Regions from separate parts of the Homo sapiens genome. Here regions 1, 2, 3, 4, 6 and 7 are each linked to region 5. Evidence: promoter capture Hi-C in 16 types of primary human blood cells and fetal thymus (Javierre and others, 2016). All regions are on one chromosome and are shown on one strand. The core of a region is centred on a gene start or on the middle of the fragment in contact, and the rest is flanking DNA. Distances in the headings are between cores, read along the strand shown.

What was found. Contacts are between HindIII fragments. The CHiCAGO score rates a contact against its expected background, and 5 or more counts as called.
Region 1: a fragment that was not itself captured here is called in contact with the fragment with the promoter of DACH1 in region 5 in 1 of 17 cell types (monocytes); the score reaches 6.8 in monocytes.
Region 2: a contact is called between a fragment that was not itself captured here and the fragment with the promoter of DACH1 in region 5, in 5 of 17 cell types (M0 macrophages, erythroblasts, M2 macrophages and 2 more). The highest score is 7.2, in M0 macrophages.
Region 3: a contact is called between a fragment that was not itself captured here and the fragment with the promoter of DACH1 in region 5, in 4 of 17 cell types (monocytes, M0 macrophages, fetal thymus and 1 more). The highest score is 12.7, in monocytes.
Region 4: a contact is called between a fragment that was not itself captured here and the fragment with the promoter of DACH1 in region 5, in 1 of 17 cell types (fetal thymus). The highest score is 5.0, in fetal thymus.
Region 6: a fragment that was not itself captured here is called in contact with the fragment with the promoter of DACH1 in region 5 in 1 of 17 cell types (endothelial precursors); the score reaches 6.4 in endothelial precursors.
Region 7: a fragment that was not itself captured here is called in contact with the fragment with the promoter of DACH1 in region 5 in 2 of 17 cell types (endothelial precursors and monocytes); the score reaches 11.8 in endothelial precursors.

Annotation. Positions count from the first base shown.
Region 1 is chr13:71,269,357-71,272,209 of GRCh38, reverse strand. No RefSeq gene overlaps it. Among named protein-coding and RNA genes, the nearest start is that of LINC00348, 260 kb to the right of the region's middle. The HindIII fragment of the contact is 1,529 bases long and covers 839-2,367 here.
Region 2 is chr13:71,309,098-71,312,141 of GRCh38, reverse strand. No RefSeq gene overlaps it. Among named protein-coding and RNA genes, the nearest start is that of LINC00348, 300 kb to the right of the region's middle. The HindIII fragment of the contact is 639 bases long and covers 1,189-1,827 here.
Region 3 is chr13:71,292,232-71,295,415 of GRCh38, reverse strand. No RefSeq gene overlaps it. Among named protein-coding and RNA genes, the nearest start is that of LINC00348, 280 kb to the right of the region's middle. The HindIII fragment of the contact is 607 bases long and covers 1,577-2,183 here.
Region 4 is chr13:70,962,565-70,965,601 of GRCh38, reverse strand. No RefSeq gene overlaps it. Among named protein-coding and RNA genes, the nearest start is that of LINC00348, 51 kb to the left of the region's middle. The HindIII fragment of the contact is 2,035 bases long and covers 743-2,777 here.
Region 5 is chr13:71,865,798-71,868,634 of GRCh38, reverse strand. It overlaps DACH1 (dachshund family transcription factor 1), which reads left to right and starts at 1,431. Exons shown (of 11, transcript NM_080759.6): 1 at 1,431-2,713. The coding sequence starts at 1,866. The HindIII fragment of the contact is 4,223 bases long and covers 1,040-2,837 here.
Region 6 is chr13:71,234,769-71,237,558 of GRCh38, reverse strand. No RefSeq gene overlaps it. Among named protein-coding and RNA genes, the nearest start is that of LINC00348, 220 kb to the right of the region's middle. The HindIII fragment of the contact is 2,929 bases long and covers 1-2,790 here.
Region 7 is chr13:71,250,439-71,253,623 of GRCh38, reverse strand. No RefSeq gene overlaps it. Among named protein-coding and RNA genes, the nearest start is that of LINC00348, 240 kb to the right of the region's middle. The HindIII fragment of the contact is 744 bases long and covers 960-1,703 here.

The DNA of each region.
Region 1 (2,853 bases), core at 354-2,853, 600 kb after region 5:
TTATAAGAGTTCTAAGTTCTCGAATAAGATCATAATACTTCTATAATTTTAGAAAAACAAAAGAAATAACTAATAGTCAAAAAATCCAGATGGCACTTAATAGTTGATTAACTAAGAGGCAAAATAATAAATACAATAGATGTTAATTGAGTCAAGAGATCATCTTGCTTAAGTTCAAGTAAATAACATAAAGAGGTATATAAACACATGATTTACTTGGAAAAATACAATTTTTACATTTGGTCCAAAAGAGATGGAAAAAGAAACTAAACAAATTCATTTATTGCCACTGAGTTTAAGAAAATAAAAAATAAAATAAAACCAAATTCATTACTCAAAAACAAATGGACAAGTTATACAATAGCTAATTAAAAAGCCCAATAGAACAAAACATCTCTGTAGATTAATTTTATAAAAAATATAAAGAACAGATCCTCATGCTATTTGAAACTTTTTCTTTTGAGACAAGTTCTCTCCCTGTTGCCCAAGCTGGAGAGCAGTGGCACAATCATAGCTCACTGTAACCTTGACATCCTAGGCTGAAGTGATCCTCCCACTTTAGCCTCCCAAGTAGCTGGAATTACAGTTGTGTGCCACTAAGCCTGGCTAATAAAAATAAATTTGTATGTGTGTAGAGATATCTTACTATGTTCCCAGATTGTCCCAAACTGCTGGCCTCAAGTGATCCTCCTGCCTAAGCCTCCCAAAGCACTAGGATTACAGTCATGAGCCACCATGCCTGGCCTTATTTGAAATTTTTAAGAGCACAGTGAATGAAGGACAAAAGGAACCTATAATCACTTTTTACAAATGCAGCATTCTATTTATATCCAAAGCTTACAATTAGAGTAACACACACAAAATTAGACTTATAAATGAGATATACATATATAAAAAAGAATTTTAAAAAGTATATCTGTGAATAGACTGTAGAGAATATTAATGTGAACAAATGGGATTTATATCAGAAATAGAAGTTTAGTTCAAAATTAGAAAATTTACTAAGGTATGTCAACATGACAAAATGTCAAGGCAATAAAATGATACTTTCTATGGATGCTGATAAGGCATTTGATAAAACTAAACATTAACACATGATTAAAAAGTGAATCTTGAAAATAAACATCCAGATTGTCTCTACAACATGACAGAAAATATGCCAGACAAAAAATCATCTTAAAACTTTTCTACTTAAGTCACGACCTTGAGAAGCAGGCCCACTATTATCATTATTATTCAAACATTTTCTGGAAGTATGAACCAATGCAATTAATCTACACAGAGTATAGAGAAATATGACACTTTTAAAGAAGAAGGCAAAATCCTTTTGCCAACAATATTTTATATTTCTGACAAAATACAATTATTTGAAAAAATAGAAACAAAAAGAAGTATGCACAGTGGCTACTTAAAAAGCAGTCATATATAAGCCAAAAATCAGTTAAAAAATGTAACTGAAGAAGAGTTTCCACTCACAGGAACAAGACATATATGTAAAACATCTTAGGGGAAAATAAGAACTTTGGAAGTGCTAAATAAATAAAACTTTTATGCTACTGAGGGTCTTTAATCAAGATTTTAAGACATATATCCCATTCATGGAAACACTCAATACTGTGAAGCTATCAATCTCTCTAATTAACATAGAATCAATTTCAAATAACAGCATCTCTTGAAAAATAGATAATCAATTTAAAAAGTGTGTGTAAAATAAACATTAGGGAATAATCATGAGAATTTTAATATACAATTAATCTATTTATTAAAATATATGTTAAAGTTACATCAATTAAAATAGTTTGATATTATGACATTAATTGACTAGTCTCTTGTCCCTTCAATCTATTTTGTACATCACTAAGAGGTTTAATTTGTCTTCAAATTAAGGAATCCACAAGCTGGTATATTTACTAAATGCACCAAATGATCTGTCCTCTAGGAAGTATTAGAGAAAGGCTAGCATTGGGTTCCATTTTGTGGATGTCATACAGGTTGTTAGCTTTCTGTTGTCATCTTCATCAGGGAATATAACTTAATTTATTAGGGTTAAACTTTTTAGTCAAAAACTCTTTCCAATTATTCTTCCCTGGAGTAACAGTTTCATCACCATAATTACATTTCAGTTGTTCTAGAAACTCTTTAATCACCAACAGTATATTTCTATTATGAGATACGGTTTCCTGAACTCATCCTTTATATTGCTTTACAGCCTTGATAAACGGAGATTTTACATAAGACTACAAGTAGGAGTAAGGAAGACAGTCACCTCAGCCAAGCACAGGGTGGTTTAGAACAGGAGTCCTGTCCGTGGCCTGTTAGGAACTCGGCCCACAGCAGGAGGTGAGTGGTGGGCAAGCAAGGGAAGCTTCATCTGCATTTACAGCCATTCCCCATTACTCACGTTACTTCCTGAGCTTCACCTTCTGTCAGATCAGTGGTGACATTAGATTTTCATGGGATCCCAAACCCTATTTTGAACTGAACAAGTGTGGGATCTAGGTTGTGCGCTCCTGTGAGAATCTAATGCCTGATAATGTGTTACTGTCTCCCATAACTCCCAAAAGGGACCATCTAGTTGCAGGAAAATAAGCTCAGGGCTCTCACTGATTGTACATTATTGTGAGCTGTAGAAATATTTCATTATCTATTATAATGTAATAATATAGAAATAAAGTGCACAATAAGTGTAATGTGCTTGAATCACACTGAAACCGTGCCCTCCACGCCCACCTCCCCATCCATGGAAAAATTGTCTTCCACAAAACTGGTCTCTGGTGGCAAAAAGGTTGGGGACCGCTGGTTTAGAACATTGTTCAGTATCTTTATCTCAAGACTTTGACAGCACCTTAGGTG
Region 2 (3,044 bases), core at 259-2,758, 560 kb after region 5:
TTGATTTTTCTACATATTCTAATAAGTTTTTTCTTTTTAAATTTCTTCTGTGTGCTTTATGTCTCCTATCAGGAAGTTATAGTTATCTGTGTTTTTTTCTGAGTATTATTTGATAGATTTTTAAAAAATAAATGAATTATCAATTGTCCCATTCCAACTTATTAAACAATACACCCTTTCATTACTTAGTTGTAATACCACTTTGGCATATAACAACTATACATATATGAACAACTATATATATATATATATATATATATATATAAATAAACAACTGTATATAAGGATATTCCAATAATTTCTATTATTTTAATTGTTTCTCCCTGTTTCAATATGTTCCTTAATTTGTGGTAGTATTATAATTTGTATGGACAGTTAGTAGCAGATGTTCAATGTTACTATTACCACTTTTTACACTCTTCCTTTTTTCTCCTCCTATATATTACTTTTTCTCTTCATCTTTTCTCTTTTCATTTCTTGTTTCTTATTATTCTCTTCCCTCCTTCACCCTTTTCTCCACTTTCTTTTTTTCACTCCTTCTCCACTATCTTCTCCACTATGTCCTTCTTGGCTCTACTTCCTCAAAATTATCTTGGCTTTTATCGCTGCATTACTCATCCATATAAATTTGGCAATCAGCTTAAGTTATTAAATATTCTTGATATTTTTCTGACATTAAATTGGGAAAAAATTAATTCAAAAATAAATCTTTCTATTTAAGAACATAAAATATCTGTGCAGTTATTAAAAACATTTTCATGTTTTCAAAGATTATTTATAGAGTTTTTGCTTTTGTAATCGTTCATATGTGTCATGAAATTTATCCCAAAATACCTTCCAAATGTTTTTGTTTTTTTGGTTATTGGAATTTAAATACTTTTTAATGACATATTCAAATTTTTTTGAAAGAATAAGGGATGTTGCTAGTTTTATATATTGAGCTTTTTCAAAATTTCATTTGAAATTTTACTAATTTCAGTAGATTGAGTAAACAACTTTTGGATAGTTTCTCTGGAAATAATATGGGTAATACATCATGAAATTTGTTACCTTCTTTCTAATCCTTATATGTCATATTTTTCTTGCTTTATTTCAAATTGTATTTATTAGGATTTCAAATACAATGTTGACTAAGAAATGGTGCTAGTAGACATTCATTCTGATATTAAAGAAAATAAATCTAAAGCTTCACTATGAAAAATGCTATTTACAGTTTGGTAGTTACCATTTTCTGGCTAGAGAAATGTTGTTTTGATTACTAATACACACACACTCATACACAGGTGTTTTACATTTTTCAAATAGTTTTAATATTTGAAGTAATTTTTCTTTAATTATTAATTTGATAATAATTGACTAATAATATATTTATGATATTAAAGACAAGCAATTTTTACATTTGTCATTTAAAAATGTATGGTTAGGTTCACTGAATTAGTATTTTTACTAATTCACTAATTAGTAAAATTAGTGAATAATATTATTTTTATTTTTCACTTACTCTTTAATTTTGACATCAATGCAATACTAGTGTTTTATTACTTGTATTAGTTTGTTTTCTTCTTTCTCTATTTTATGTATACTTTTTCATGAAATTAACAAAACATGTCTCAGTGGTAATAATTTTGTTGGACCTATATGGCCAATACCTCCTTCCAATGAATGGGCATAACATAAGGCCTCAAAATGAGAAAGAGAATGACTTCAGGAGTCATGGAAGTGAAGTTTCCTGCAAAGCTGGAGAAATGGTAATTTGAAGGAAAAAGTAAATGATAAAAGTATAAAAACGTGCAATTCCTACACATCCAAAGTTATGAATTAAAAGCTTATTTTACTTAATAAAAAAATGCTTTTCTTAGAGAAAGAGAGGGAATTATTAATAGCAAGATGGTGACTTACTATTTACAAAATTAAATTTTTGTTCAATTGTGTGCAAATATATTTAATATGTTATTCCTCTGAAAATGAAAGTAAAGACCTGGGAGTTCGTGCAGCTTGACATTTCACTTTTGCTGGGGAGGTCTCAGGGTATAGAGTGACTTTAGTTTATGTTTACACTCGAAGGCAGAGAGTGAGACTGGAATACAGGCCAGCTGCCTTGACTCCACATAAAGTGCTCATTCCACAGCCCTCTGCTTTAGCTGAGGGTGAAGGGGCATTGAAGCAATCACATCAGAATCATCGTAATTCCCACTGGTGTAAAGAAAAATAAAGCGAAGAGTACTCCCTAAATGTCCTTGAAATTAATTATTTGCTAAATCCAAAAACATAACTAGTGTGAACCATTAGGTAATAGATAATACTTCAAAAAATATATACAGTATTGGATAATTGGGCGGTAAACATGTAACTATTGTTCTTTTATTTTCTAAGTGCTACAGGCATATAATGAAAAATTTACACATAGCTCTTTATAATAAACAAGTGTTGCAGAAAACTGTGCTGAGGCCAGGCACGATGGCTCACATCTGTAATCCCAGAACTTTGGGAGGCTGAGGTGGGCGCATCACCTGAGGTCAGGAGTTTGAGACCAGCCTGGCCAACATGATGAAACCCTATCTCTACTAAAAAACACAACAACAACAACAACAACAAAATAGCTGGACGTGGTGGTGGGCTTCTGTAGTCTCAGCTACTCGGGAAGCTGAGGCGGAGAATCTCTTGAACCCAGGAGGCGGAGGTTGCAGTGAGCCGAGATCGTGCCACTGCCCTCTAGCCTGGGTGGTGGAGTGAGACTCTGTCTCAAAAGAAAAAACAAAACAAAACAAAAACAAAAAAGGAAGCTATGCTAAAAGTATCTATTCATTTTTTAAAATGTTTACTGTATTTTGTGTGAGTACTAGGCTGTTTTACCATTACATGGCAAATCACTGTGCTTTATGCTACTTTGCAAGTGACTGAATGAAGGTATTATTTTACTTGAAGCAAAACTGACTATATCAAAGTTCTCAACATGTATAAACATCATTTGACCCCAATAGAGATTAGAAAATATAATATTATGGATGCTAGAAAATTTTACAGTAGACATAAGCAAATAAAAA
Region 3 (3,184 bases), core at 631-3,130, 570 kb after region 5:
GCTGTTGGGAAAAAGAGTACCTTGGTGCTGGAGGTGAGAAATCTGAGCAGAAGCATATAGCATTCATTACACATGGTTTGCCATAACGTACAGCAATATAAAAACTTTGTTGCAGTTTCGTCTACAGAAATTTCTAAGAGACTAAGGAAATGGTTGACATAGGAAAATACGCTTCAAAAGAAAGTAGTATAGCTACGTATCCTTTTTAAACTTTGAAAATTTAAAAGATAAATGGAAAACTTATTTGAACACACTCAACAACTATATATTTTGCAATTAAGTAAACTAAATGCCTTTAGAAAAATAAGAGGCGTGTGGAAATAATCAAGGCAATCTTCCCTAATTAAAGCCATTGTACTAAAAGTGCTTGATAGCTTCTTGATACCCTGATAGCTGCTCAGGGTAAATTTGAGTCTCTCCATTCCCTTTTTGTTTTAATCTTGGGGTATGTGCTCCAAAAATTATCATCAAACCCATTCTCCCTTTTATTTGTATAAGGTAATATATAGAATGGATTGATCTGGCCACATTACACACACACACACACACACACACACACACACACACATGCACATGAAATGCCGTAAATAATAATGACTTAACTGAAAAGAAGATCATTTCTTTCTAATAAAGTAAGTCTAATAAAAGTAGTCCACAGCTGACACAGCAGCCCCTTGCTGTCTTCCAGCTCTTTGCTTGGCCACCGTTAGCTATGGCTCTCACTGATCTAAGATGGCCAATGGAGCTTCCACCATCCCAATTGCATTTTAGTTATTAGAATGAACTAAGAAAAGGAGAAAGTGAGCACAGGTTTGTATTTTTCCTAAAGTGCTCTGTTCTTCTATATATAACTTATTGCCTGGAACTTAGTCACACTGTTATAGCTAGCTGCAAGGAAGTTTGTCCAGTATGCATATAGCTCAATATGTAAGGTCACTGGATGTTTGCTGACCACTCTATTAGGTGTACCTCTAGCTCTTTATTGTTTGGGGACTTACTAGACTAAATGAAAACTTATCTGTCTGAAACACACGCAGAAGAAAAGGAGCAGCAGGAACAGATGTAAAATAGGAAATTGTGCTCATTAGCTCATCATAATAGTAAGATTCTGCTGGGCATAAATAGTTAAGCCCCCTAACCTAGTAATATAAGAGTCCCTGGTTACCTTACCTGTTCCTACTTCTGCTCTCTATAGAAGCGCTACTTCCATTGTCTGCTCTTATCTCTTGCTCCACCCTTTTGGGTAGGTTCTTCCTTTTCCTGAGCTCTCCATGGCTATTTCTAAGGTGGGCAATAGAAAGCATCCTTAATTAAGCCCCCAAATATCCTGCAGCCCAATTCATTTCAGTGCAGTTTCAGGTACTATTAAAATTTCAACAGTAATAGGCAGGTGCAGTCCAAGCTTGTGGTTTCTTTTGGCTTTCAGATCTTGTAGTTTTTAAGCCTGATTGTACCTTGAGACCACTTAAAAGGATAGACTTGGGTGGGAAGACAACATACTTAATATGATATTTGCTTCTAGCTTGCTTCCCATTGTCTGACAAAGAACTATTCATGGAAGGTCTTTTTAAAAGCTTTAATACCAGTGATTAATCTCCTGCTAAGGCTGTTTCTTTGGAGTAAACTTACAAGGGTTTCAGTTTGGAATGCAGAGCACTTGTCTTTTTTTTTTTTTTAATTCTGAAAGGCTCCAAATTTAATGCTTTTACACTGCAGACGAGAGAGAGAGAGAATTCCTCCCTAACATCTCTGCCTGCAGATAAGCTGGATCAAAGTTGAGCTCATCTCTCCTAGAACTCTGTTGAAAGCAACAAGAAACAGCTAGCACAGACAACATTTTATTTTATTTTTTAACACTTTCCCTTAAGGGTATTTGATCTGCTTTCCTGACAGCCTTTTGTCTGCTTTCCAAAGTGTGGCAGACAGCATTTTGGCCAAATCTTTTATCAATGAAGTATGTATTGCCAGGTTCTCAGCCTAAAATATTGGGAACACATTTTAGGCTCCAATATTGTATTATTGCATGCCCATGAAACAGATTCTATGTACATTAGGATTGTGATAGTCTGGAAATAACAGAGACTTAGAAAGTAGATTCTTAAAAAATATGTAGATTTATTTTTCGCTTTGAGATGTCAAATAGTTCCTGGCTGATAGAAAAGACTCCAATGCCATCAAAAGCTTACATCTTTATCTTTATTCTGCACCATTCCTGTGAACTTATTGCTAAGTTCACTTGGAAGGCCAGTGGGGCTGCTGCAGTTCTGATCATTATGTCCACGTGGCAAACCACAAGAAGGAAGGTATTAAATAAGGTGACTTGGGAGGCCGAAGCAGGCAGATTGCAAGGTCAGAAGATCGAGACCATCCAGGCTAACACGGTGAAACCCCATCTCTACTAAAAATACAAACACAAAATTAGCCAGGCATAGTGGCAGGTGTCTGTAGTCCCAGCTACTCACGAGGCTGAGGCAGGAGAATGGCGTGAACCCAGGAGGCGAAGCTTGCAGTGAGCCGAGATCACACCACTACACTCCAGCCTGGGCGACAGAGCGAGACTCTGTCTCAAAAAATAAAAATAAAAATAAAAATAAATAAATAAATAAATAAATAAAGGTGGCTCCACTGGGAGGTAGCTCATTTAAAAAATCCTCATTTGTCTAAGTTGAATCATCTTGCTTAATAACCTTCCCAGTTGTCCTGTTACAGGGAGTTAGACAGGCATAAGCTGGGCAGGAGAGAGCTCTCCCCAACCCACAAGGAATGTTGGGTGCTGGTTCAGCAGTTATCACATCGCCTCTCTAAATGTGATAAATTGGCAGCTGGCACCAGGGAGAGACCATTTCCTGATGGTCCACACCTGTTGCACTAAAGTGTTAAATGAATGCAGATTCCAGGGAGAGGCAACTTACTGGGCATGTGCATTAAGAGACAAAATGGCAAAGTTGGACCTTCCTGGGACACACCACCAGAAAAGGGAAAAAAGCCGCAGATGGGCATGCATACAACTTCCTAAACACTGTGTGTACTTACCTCCCAAGCGTAAGGACACTGTTCATGTGGAAAGCCCACCATAAGGGAAGAATCATGGGGAAGGGACCAGCCTATCAAGTCCTAGGATCAAGGCGAAACATTACACCTGACTTTCACATGCCTGTTTGTGTCTTGTCCAAGCGTACTTTTC
Region 4 (3,037 bases), core at 511-3,010, 900 kb after region 5:
TGAAAGAATCAATTGTTTTGCTGCTTAGAAGTTTAACATTAATATAATAGGAAGATTTGTAGATATGGGCTCAAAATCTTCTTGAGTTAAAGTTGCCACCCAAAATCTTACGATGTAGGTGACTTCAGGAAGGAAATTAACATCTCTGAACCTCAGTTTTTATAATTGTCACATGGGGATAATAACACTTACTGTGTGGTACATAGAATGTGGGAAGCTATATAAAAAATAGTAAATAGGAAAACATTCTCTACACTTTGATAGACTAATCAAATGAAAGTTTCACTAACATTAATGGAATGACTTTCACTGTGGCTTGATTTGTACATATCCAGAAGAATAACATTAGTAGCCCAGTATGCTTCTATGACAATTTAGTGTATGCCAATCATTTTACATTTATCAGTTTCTCTCTTTGCCATTGGTATGTGAGTGGCAGAACAGTTATCTATATTAGATCTGTGAGGAAACTGGGTTACAAAAAGTGAAAATATTTGCCTGAGATCATAGAATCGTTGAGTTTCAGAAGTGGAAAAAGTGAATATGTACTCTAACTTCCTCATTTTGCAGATAAGAAAACTGAAGCCCTGAGAAAATCAATGAATGCTTCATGGTATATTGAAAGGGCAATTACATTACTACATGTTTTCATCTGGTCATTCTTTTTTTCTTTCTTATTCATCCAGTCCTTATAATGATAATAATTCAATTATGTAGTATCTTCTTCAGTGGAAACAAAGCTTATCAATCAACCAAATAAAATTATGATATATGTTGGTAAAGCACAAAAAATAATATTCATAAGTTTAAATTTTGTATTCATTCACTCATAACAAAAAAGTAAACAAATATAAGACTTGCTGTCAATTTTAAGAAGTGCCATAAAGAAAATTAATCAGTTGTCAAGACATGGAACAAAGGGATAGAAGGAAATAAAGTTGCTCATTTAAAATGGGTGGTTGGAGAAGGCTTCTTTGATGAGGTGTCATTTGAGTTATTTTGGATGAAAGGGTTAACCATAAAAAGTGAACTTTAAGTAGAAAAACAGTTATTGAAAAGATAAGATACTTTAATTGTATTTGAAATGCAATGGAAAGCTATGGAAGGGTTATACATAGAAAAATATCATGGTGCGTTGTACATTTTTAAAGGATCAGTAGACAATGATCAGAGGAAGCAGGTAAAATAAGAAACTATTGGAGTAGTTCAGATGAGAGGTGATGGTGACTTGGTGTGTATGTCTGATTGTGCAGCTTGTGTACTGCACACCTCTAGGTGGTGCCATTCTCCTAGACTGCAAAGTGTATGGTCTCCTAAAGAGTTGTACAATTAAAACCTGTAAAACTGTACACAATGATGCTGTTTACAGGGGCCGGGGGATGCAGCAGTGGTAAATGGACAGAATTGGCAGAACCAATACATACAGCAGAATAACTTATGCTTTTAATTGTATGGACATTGGTGGGGAGAAATGGGAGAATTTATATCTCTTTTACAACTTAGCAGATATTGGTGCTATTACATAGCTCTTGAATGCTTCTATAATTTCCTTTCTATATTCATTGTTTTCATAAACCATTGAATACATTATAAAATCCAATTGTTAAAATGGTTTCTAAATTTTTTAGAAGCCCTGGACTAATTTTTGCCATATGGATATGAAATGAATTTCATTTGTTAACATGAAAAAATTCTATAAAAGATTAGCTTAACAAATTGGAAACAATATGATCTTTCAAAAATTCAAGCTATACACAGTAAGTGGTCAATAGCTATTTATTGATGGTGATGATGTTGTCTGCCCTTTGAAGGGCTGTTAATAATACAATGCAAACAATGTGCTGTTAAAATCACTTGAATGGGTTATTTAATAATATGATTAGACTAATTTACTGCAAGATTGAAATTCTTATCTGGCATTAATATGGACACTAGACTAGGCCTTGAAAAGAGTCACATAATACACAGTACATTTTTCAGAAGATTTGCTTTTGTATATTCATGTAATTTGGCATTGAAATATTGGTTTAACCTATTATTGAATTCAAAATGTTGTGATTTCAGGCCTTCTCTATCGAGAAGTCACTTTTTTTTTCTTCCCAACAAAGCAAAACATATTGGTTCTTTGTAGGGTTTAACATATTAACTTGGTCTTAGAGGACTGGTATTTTAAAAAGGAAAACAAATAACTTCATTGTAAGGAGAATCTTCAGGGCTCTCTTTGAGAGGATTGGCAATTCATCCAATATTTTACTGCTGTCACTCTGTAATCTGTTGATTGGTGTTCATAATTCTTCACAGAGATATTGTAAAGATTAATGAAACAGAGTTTGTAAAGTATTTTATCTCCACAAACGCTAGTTCTGTGAGCTGAACGTTTAGAAGCCTCATTATACACAGGCTATACCGTGCCAGAACTCTTAAACTGTTAGTAAAATCTCTTAAGTGTTGTTCTTTATCATTGCTGTCTCAATAATGCAGGGCTGTGCCTATCATATCAGTTTTTGTCTCTTCAGGACTGTTTAAGCGTACTACTATTGATACTTGACATTTATCAGAGTTACAGTGATCCTTTTAAATTTGGAGGGTATAGAATTTGTATTTTATCTTTTAGTGTCGTCTAATAATGTCAAGCTCTATATAAGCACAACCCAGAATTACATAAAGAGCAATGCTCTTTAAAGTCTAGCCTCTGTATCATGAACCTCCCAAAGGTTTGCATTAAAAAATAATGCAGTATGTTCCTCTCCCCAAACAGCTTCAAAGTATAGAAAGCTTAATTAAAATGCCTAAAAGGTAGTACCTCATATCAACGCAACTTCTTGCATCATTAATTCCATAATATAATTTCTTCTGGAAAAAATCTTTAATTTCTAGAAGAAAGCAAACATAAACTTTCTTCATATTATTTAAGTCTACCTTGGAGTAGAAGGGATGAAGCATAGAGAGGTGAGGGAATTCTAGAGTAACCAAACAAACACTATTATTGTGAGTGATAGGGGAAGTGGTTGGATCCTCACTCACAGTTGCTCATAGG
Region 5 (2,837 bases), core at 182-2,681:
CAACCCTGTGAACCTGCTACTAACAGTTTATTTTAAAAATCTGTCAAATGCTAAAGCATTGCTTCATATCTTATGAACTTACTGAACATGTGTGGACCGGTTCAAAGGCTAACTAATTGAAGATACTTGGAGACATGAGCAGCAAATAGATTTGACCCATATTCAAATGATATGTTAGTCAAAAATCCTTGAATAAATACTTCAGTGCAACAAGTTAGAAAAGAAAAGAAAAGGAAAGAGGAAGGAAAGGAGGAATAGAGTCAGTCTAAACTCAGCCTCATGTTGTTTTAAGCACAGCTACCCAAGTCTTTACAAGTCAACTAGTGAGCTTTGTTTTTGTTCTTCCCATTATTTACAAAACATATATTTACTGACAAATTGAAAAGGACTTTCCAAAACTACAGCAGCACTTTTCAAACATGAAAAAAAAAAAAAAAAAACTATTGTGTTGTCCAAAAAACACATTAGCAATTGGCTTTGGGTCTTAAAGGACATGAGGATAGTTGGTTACTGTGTAAGACAGGTGAATTAATTATAGAGTTTTGGGTAAGAAAACCCTTTTTCCACTTTCTAAATCTTCAAGGATACCTTATCTCCTTGATAGCTCTAGGTTTAACAGGTATTTCTGACTGGCTTTTGGGGAGACAGTGAAGTTATTCTAAATCATCCACATCAAGGCAAGCATTTCTTTCCACAACCTATTAGGAAATATGGAATTGAATACAGAGCTTTCCATTATTCTTAAGCGATTTCGGACTGACTTTCTTCTCACCACTTGAAAACTGTCCTGGAATTTTCACTATCTTTATATAAATAAATAATTTAGTAGAGAAATAAACAATCAGATGCAAAAGAACATTACGCTTTGCTTACATGTGAATTTTCCTCAAAATAATTTCTGAATAATCGTGAAGTGGGGGCTGTGTTTTCGTTTCTAGCTCATTGCCAAAACGCGTGGAGATGGATCCTAAATCCTGGAAGGAGAGAGCTCGGCGCGCTCAGGCTCCTCTTTAAGTTGGCGGGCGATTGTTTAGAAGCTTTGGAAAAAATTACCAGTCCCCGCGGACGAAATGGAATGTGAGACATGCAATCTAACGGTAGTAGTAGAAGAGAAGTAGATGATCTCCCTCTCCTTTTCCGATCGCCACTTCTGTGTCCCCGGCTTTTCCTCTCCGTCCCTCCCACAGTTTCTTTCCGTATCCTCCCCCTCCCCTCCTCCTTTCCTCGCACGCTCCCTCTCCAGTGTCTCGCGCTCTCGGAGTCTCTGCTCCGAGTTCCTGGTTGGATAATTTGGGTTAATACTAGTGAGTGAGGTTTTTGCGGCTTCAAAGGGTATTTCAAGTTTCCGGAGCTCCTCCCCTCTGCACCGTGTGACAACAACAACTCGTCCAGCCGGCAGCCTGCACTTTTCAGCTCATTTTCTCTCTGTCATTCCCCTCTCAATCTTTGATCAATGTACTTGCCAGGGAGAGCCCAAGTCCTTCAAACCTCCTCCTTTTCACCTTCATCCTTAACTTTGTGCTAGAGCGAGACCCACACAACAACAGCCGACCCTCCCCGCCCCACCCCCACCCCCAAACCAGCCCTCGATCCCAGCCCCCGGAGAGGACTCGCATTTCGACTTGCGGGACACTTTTGTGCGTTCCTCTCCAGAGCGCCTCTCGTGCTCGCCCCTCTTGCGCTCGCTCTTTATTACCTTCACCTCCTTTTCTCCCCCTTCTCTCCCTTTCTCCTTCTCGTTCTCTCCCGGAGTTGTTGTTGCCCCCCTCGCTCCTTCTCCCCCCTTTTTTCCCCTTCCCCTCCCGGGGGTGTGTGGCAACTTTTCCTCTCGCTTCTCCTCCGTCTGTTTCCCCTTATATGTGACCATGGCAGTGCCGGCGGCTTTGATCCCTCCGACCCAGCTGGTCCCCCCTCAACCCCCAATCTCCACGTCTGCTTCCTCCTCTGGCACCACCACCTCCACCTCTTCGGCGACTTCGTCTCCGGCTCCTTCCATCGGACCCCCGGCGTCCTCTGGGCCAACTCTGTTCCGCCCGGAGCCCATCGCTTCGGCGGCGGCGGCGGCGGCCACAGTCACCTCTACCGGCGGCGGCGGCGGCGGCGGCGGCAGCGGAGGCGGCGGCGGCAGCAGCGGCAACGGAGGCGGCGGTGGCGGCGGCGGCGGTGGCAGCAACTGCAACCCCAACCTGGCGGCCGCGAGCAACGGCAGCGGCGGCGGCGGCGGCGGCATCAGCGCTGGCGGCGGCGTCGCTTCCAGCACCCCCATCAACGCCAGCACCGGCAGCAGCAGCAGCAGCAGTAGCAGCAGCAGCAGCAGCAGCAGTAGTAGCAGCAGCAGCAGTAGCAGCAGCAGCTGCGGCCCCCTCCCCGGGAAACCCGTGTACTCAACCCCGTCCCCAGTGGAAAACACCCCTCAGAATAATGAGTGCAAAATGGTGGATCTGAGGGGGGCCAAAGTGGCTTCCTTCACGGTGGAGGGCTGCGAGCTGATCTGCCTGCCCCAGGCTTTCGACCTGTTCCTGAAGCACTTGGTGGGGGGCTTGCATACGGTCTACACCAAGCTGAAGCGGCTGGAGATCACGCCGGTGGTGTGCAATGTGGAACAAGTTCGCATCCTGAGGGGACTGGGCGCCATCCAGCCAGGAGTGAACCGCTGCAAACTCATCTCCAGGAAGGACTTCGAGACCCTCTACAATGACTGCACCAACGCAAGGTGAGTCGGGGGGGATAGCCCCCGCCGCCCGCGCCCCTTCCCACCAGCCTGCTCGCCTGCCCTCGCTCCTTTCCCGGCGCCGCTCGCTCTGCGCGCCCGCGAGCCGCGCGCCCCGGCGAGCGCG
Region 6 (2,790 bases), core at 215-2,714, 630 kb after region 5:
TAGCTAATAATAACCCATCCTTACATTAGAAATGTAATTCTAGTAACGGAAAAATCTGAAATAGCTGACCACATACCATTCATCATAGAATGTCAAACAGCCATCAGTTCAAGAATAGAATCCAGTTGCCAAACTAGTAGATATGAAAGTACTATATTTGCAGATCCTCTCTTTGTGAGAAGAAAACAACAGTGGAGGACTCCCAAGCCCACCCGCTTTGAAATGTTGGCATTGGTGTTGGAGTCAGAAATACCAAGCACTCAAATGTATATTGGATTTCTTCCATTTATCATTTTAAAAAACTTTATCTGACACATATGTTTTGTAACCCAGCTGAATTAAAGGCGCTTCCATACAGAAACATAAAAAAGACATGTTAAAAATTATCAGCCAACTTTGAACAAGGTGATTACTGTATAACTTGAGAAAACAAATTTGCAGAAACAGCAACTATAACCACCTTTCATCTCATTCGCAAAAGGCTCATAGATTAAACCACTGAACAGTAGACTATTTGATTTTTTAATATATTTAAGTATTATTTTTAATAGTTTCTATGACATTGTTTTAATCATTTGATTTTATATGTGTGTGTGTTCTAATGACTGCGTGTGTGTGTGTATGCCAGCTATTTATTGCTTTTAATTTACTGTGCTTTAAAATAAACATGCTGACCTGCACCCATTCAATTTCCATAAAGCAGTAAGTTAATACAAATTTGTAGAAGTAACAAAAGGGTATAATAAGAGATGTTACTAAGGTTTTCCACTTTAAAATAAGATTTATAGATTAAAATTTTACACACATACATAAACAACAATTTAAGTAAATATGAAGGAAGGTAAAAAATTAAGACATTACCTACTGATTGGTAGCCTTGCCCATATCTCTATTTTTGTCTTAATCTATCTCCTCCTACCCACATGCTGGCTTCTACATTTTTTTTGGCTTTTTTTAGAAAATGCTTTTTGCATTTTAAAATGTATCTATAAATAATATGTTTTAATTTTTGCTTATTTTCAGAATCTGTAAAAAAATATGAGTCACAATTTAATTACTTCTTGTTTCCTGTTTTCCCTTTTGAAATTATGTTTGTAAGATTCATCAATATTATTGGATATAGCTCTAGCTGATCATTTTACATTGTTGTATATGTATCTCAATTTAGTTATTTATTCCTCTGTTGATAGCCATTTAAGTTTTTTCCAGTTTCTTTAACTGGAAATTGTTTCTTTAACTATTCTTATAGATGTATCCTAGAACCTGTAAGATGTATTTATCCTGGTTACATATTTGAGAGTGGAATTAATTAGGACATCTCAGCATGCGTAGTTCTTCAATATTGGAATAAAGCACAGATTTTAAAGTAGTTGTGACAATTTTCATCCTTACTAGCAACATGAGTTCCTGAGATCAAAGTTTTGACAAATGCATAAACCTGTGTAACTCAATATCTAGATTTTGAAATCTAGAAATCTAGAAATCTTTGTCATCATTCCAGAAAGTTTCCTCATGCCGTTTCCCAGTTGATGTTTAGTTCCACCTCAACAGAAGCATCCACTAATATGAATTTTCTTCACCGTAGATTAGCTGTTCCTTTTCTAGAAATTTATATAGGAGAAATTCTACAGTATATATTATTTTAGGCAAAGATATTTTTCTTTCTTTTAACTGGAATAATCAGTCATTTGGAGATTCATCCAGATATTGTGTGTATTAGAAGTTTGGTGATTTTTATTGACAATATTCCATTGTATGCATATACAAATATTTGATTATCCACTCTCCTCTTGAGTGTCAACAGGGCTCTTCTTAGTTCTGGAGCATTAGGAATAAAGTTACTGTTAACATTCTTGGTCAAGTCTTTTGTTTCTAATGTGTGTTGCATTACTTTTTTCTTAGAGACCTAGATGTGAAGTTGTTGGATCATAGGGTATATACATACTTGCCTTTCAAAAAAGCACTTCCAGACATTTTACATAGTGTTAGTAACTCTTTACTCCTGTCAGTAAAGCATGAAATTTTGTATTACTCTATGTTCTTGCCAAATGTTAGTGTTGACAATCTTTTAATTTTAGCCATTCTGATTGGTGTGTTGTGGTAACTCATGGATATTAGAATTTGCAATTCGCTGATGGCTAATCATTTGACTACTTTTTATGCAATTACTAGCTATTGTGCTTTTTATTTTGTGAAGTGCACAAGCAGTTATTTTGGCCAGATTTTTTAAAAAGTGGGTCGTCTATCTTCTTATTTCTAAGTATAGAAATTCTTTATATATCCAAAATAGGAATCCTTAGTCAGATACATATCTTGCAAATTTTTTTTCCCAGACTATGAATTTTGTCTTGATTTTCTGAATGATGTTGTTTTAGTGTGCAGAGCTTTAAATATTTTTCCATTTAAAAAGAAACTGGGGTGAAACTTACATAATAAAATTACGCATTTAAAATGGACAATTCGTTTGCATCCAGTGGCATTCAGTACATTCAGAATGTTGCACGGTGACCACTTTTATCTAATTCCTATAGCCTAAAACAACAACAACAACAACAAAATCCTTTTCCTATTAAGCAGTTATTACCTATTCCCATTTCTCTTCAGCCACTGGCGACCATTCATCTGTTTTTTTTTTTTTTTTTTTTTTTTTTTTAATCTCTGAAGACTTACCTATTCTAACTATGCAGGCATGAAAAAGAACGAGATCGTGTCCTTCGCAGGAACGTGGATGGAGCTGGAGGCCATTATCCTTAGCAAACCAACACAGCAACAGAAAACCAAATACTGCAT
Region 7 (3,185 bases), core at 82-2,581, 610 kb after region 5:
TTTTTCTTTTAAATTGAAAAATAGAAAGAATAAAAAGTTTTAAATATTATAACACATTAAGATTCTTCCATTTCTTCTCGTATGTATTAAAAAATATCAGAATATAAGGGTTAAAAGTACAATGCCTGTAAAATTAATTTGTATTATTGGGCGAGTTATGTTTTGGCTAAAACATTGAGTGATAATACGTGCAAAATAGTATCATAATATTTATAGCAAGCAGAGTTAATCTTTGATACGAAGAGGGAAATGAGATTCCCAGATCAATTCCAAACTATTGTATTGTTTGAGTTCATTTCAAATGCTTCCTCTGGGACTTTTCAGATTGTGGGGTTCAGGGCAATTATGGTTTCAATACACATGGAAATTTTTAGGATATAATCATTAGTAAACATGACTTAAGTGATTTATCATGGTTAGGAAAAATAGTCATTGGAAAATTAAATAATGAAAATGTCATGTTTCTCTACCACTTAGTAACATCAATACAAATTAGAGAATTTGGAGGCAATTACCTACCTGGATTAACAGTGAAGAAAGTCAGTCCACAGTATTATTTTAAAAATTGCCATAAACTGGATGAAGGAGTCAACAATCTACTTATTGAAATGAGTTCATTCACCAAATAAGTTGTGGCAATATATTTCTTCAAAAATAATTTATTTGTATACAGCATATTATTTAATAACTGAGCAGACAGGAATATGACATCTTCCAATCATGCAGTATGTGGTTTCTATACAATATGGATAATACGAACAGAATTGATTTATAGCAATCCAAAGTAAAAGGGGAAATATTGTAACAAGGAATGTTTGCTCCACTGGACAGAAGGTGGGAATATTTACGGATTTCTTTGAGAGCACTATTGTGTTGGATGATGTGTGTTTTATACTTTGGGGGAAAGGTGAGACCTCTCTATCATATCTTTCATTAAACTGCTTGATTTCCCAAAAGCTTGAGATAAACTTGGATATATAGACAGGTTTTTAACCATTTTTTTTTTTGCTATAGTCTAATTTAAACTTATTTGACTTAAATGAAACATTATTCACGGTAGCATGCATTCTAAAGTATTGAGGGTGTTCTATTTGGTTCAAATCAACCACTAGATTTACCTAAACTTAAGAAAGTGAAAGCATTCTCAAAAGTCACATTGCCAGAGACTAAACTGTTAACTTCCATGTTAGTTGGCAAATCTTCTATTTTATTGTTCTCAGTGTTCTAGTCTATGATTGTGTAACTGCTTTCCTTCTGGAAGCTCTGTAAAAATAGATGCATATCTTAAAACGTTGTATAAGGAAGTAGCGTTTTAAGTAAACAATACAGTAACTTGTCTTGAGGCTAATCAGAGTTTTCAAATATCAGAGAAACAACAAAAACAGTTGAATTGAATTTTTAGTCGCTGCTTCTTTAAGTGAATCAGACAAAAATACCTAAATCTTTTAAAATATAGCTTATGTGAATTTCTCATAATTATTAAGGCTTAGAATTTTGTTTCCATATCTTGATTCTCCATGTAAGAGCTTCTAACACACACTTTTAGCTAATGGACAAAACATTTATGAGTGCATGGAATCACAAGCAAGTCAGTAAAAAACACAAAGCATTTTGAGACCAATTGAAATATAATAGATATATAGATAATGACACATTTCAACTGAAAGTTTGCAACAGTTATCTTCCAAGCAAAGTGTAAAGCTTGATTTAACAAAAGATAAAGTTAATACTATTTAATAAGAACAGACCATTATAGATCAGTGAAACTGCAAAACAGAATTATAAGACAAGGGGCAAGCCATATTATCTAAATTAACATTTTTCCAGCATGAACAAGAAGGGCCACTGTAGGAAAGCAAGAGCTAAATAGTACGGCCTGCATTTAGTGAACCTGAAGTAATTATTAATTTATGGTTGTCTGTGATTTTAATGAAAATGAAAGCTGTGAGGAAAGAATTGAAAGAGATAATGTGCCGTGAAATTGAGTTTCATTTATTTAGGGGCCACCTTTTCCTTTTTTGTTGTTGTTAAAGGGAAGAAAGTTAATGCAAGATGTCCACATTAAAATTTCACTAGGATTATGTAACCACTGAGTTAAATGGTAATCATTATATTTGAGCAGAGTTAATGCAAAAGAAATTGAAGCCTAGATTTAGGGCCTACTGGCAAGGGCAAGAATAAAAAAACCCCAATGGCCACAATTAATGCCAAAGTCATAATTACTGTCTTTATAAATATGATGAATCCAGTAGCTATTTCGTCAGATGTATTCTTACTGTCATCACAAAAATGCCCCTTTTTGATGATGGCATCGTTGGAAAGAATATATTTCAAGAATAAAGAGTCAGATACAGGAGGCAAAACAAATCATCAAAATGCAATCGTCTTCTTCAAACTCAAACAAAATGTTTCTACATAGTCATAAGAGTGACAAGCCTTCCAGAGACTAACAGGCATGTCCAGTGTAATAGTGTGGAAAGAACTGCAGTTCATGCACTGAATTTTGTAGCTTCTCTCTACAAAAATAATAACTCTGTCTGCAGAAACATCTTCAAATGAGAAGTCAAGTGATCTAAATTATACTTACTAATTAAATATAGGAAAAGGTGCTCAATGATTTTTCAGGGTTTTTTTTTATTTTATAAGAGAAAATTTTATTTTCTGGTATTTTAATTTCCAAGTTTTAGAATATAATAAGAAAATAATTTAAAATTGAAATACTGTCAGAATTTATAAAAATCATAGAGGTTAGTTATCTTTGCTTTAGAAAAACTTAGGTGAAGTCCATGGAATGGAATATATATACAATATCACATTTTGTTCTGAAAATGTTTAAAAATATATTTTATCACACATATAGATTATGTTTTATGTTTCTAGGTTGAATAGAAATTTATCTATCAAAAATATGTTAAGTAGAGGTCATGTGGGAAAAACAGAATATCTATCCTTTACAAACTAAAATTTTAGTAGGGTAACACCTGCCTAACTTTCTTTTCTTCTCTATTTCTCTTTCTCTGTCTCTCTCTCTCTCTCTCTCCCCTACCCCCACCACTCTCCCTTTTTCTCCTCCCTTCACTTTTTTTCTTTCTCTTAATCAGCAAACAACTTTTGGGCATTTGCTATGTGCTTGGCATTGTGCTGGAATATTGGGAATACAGATTTAAATAAGCATAATCTCCATT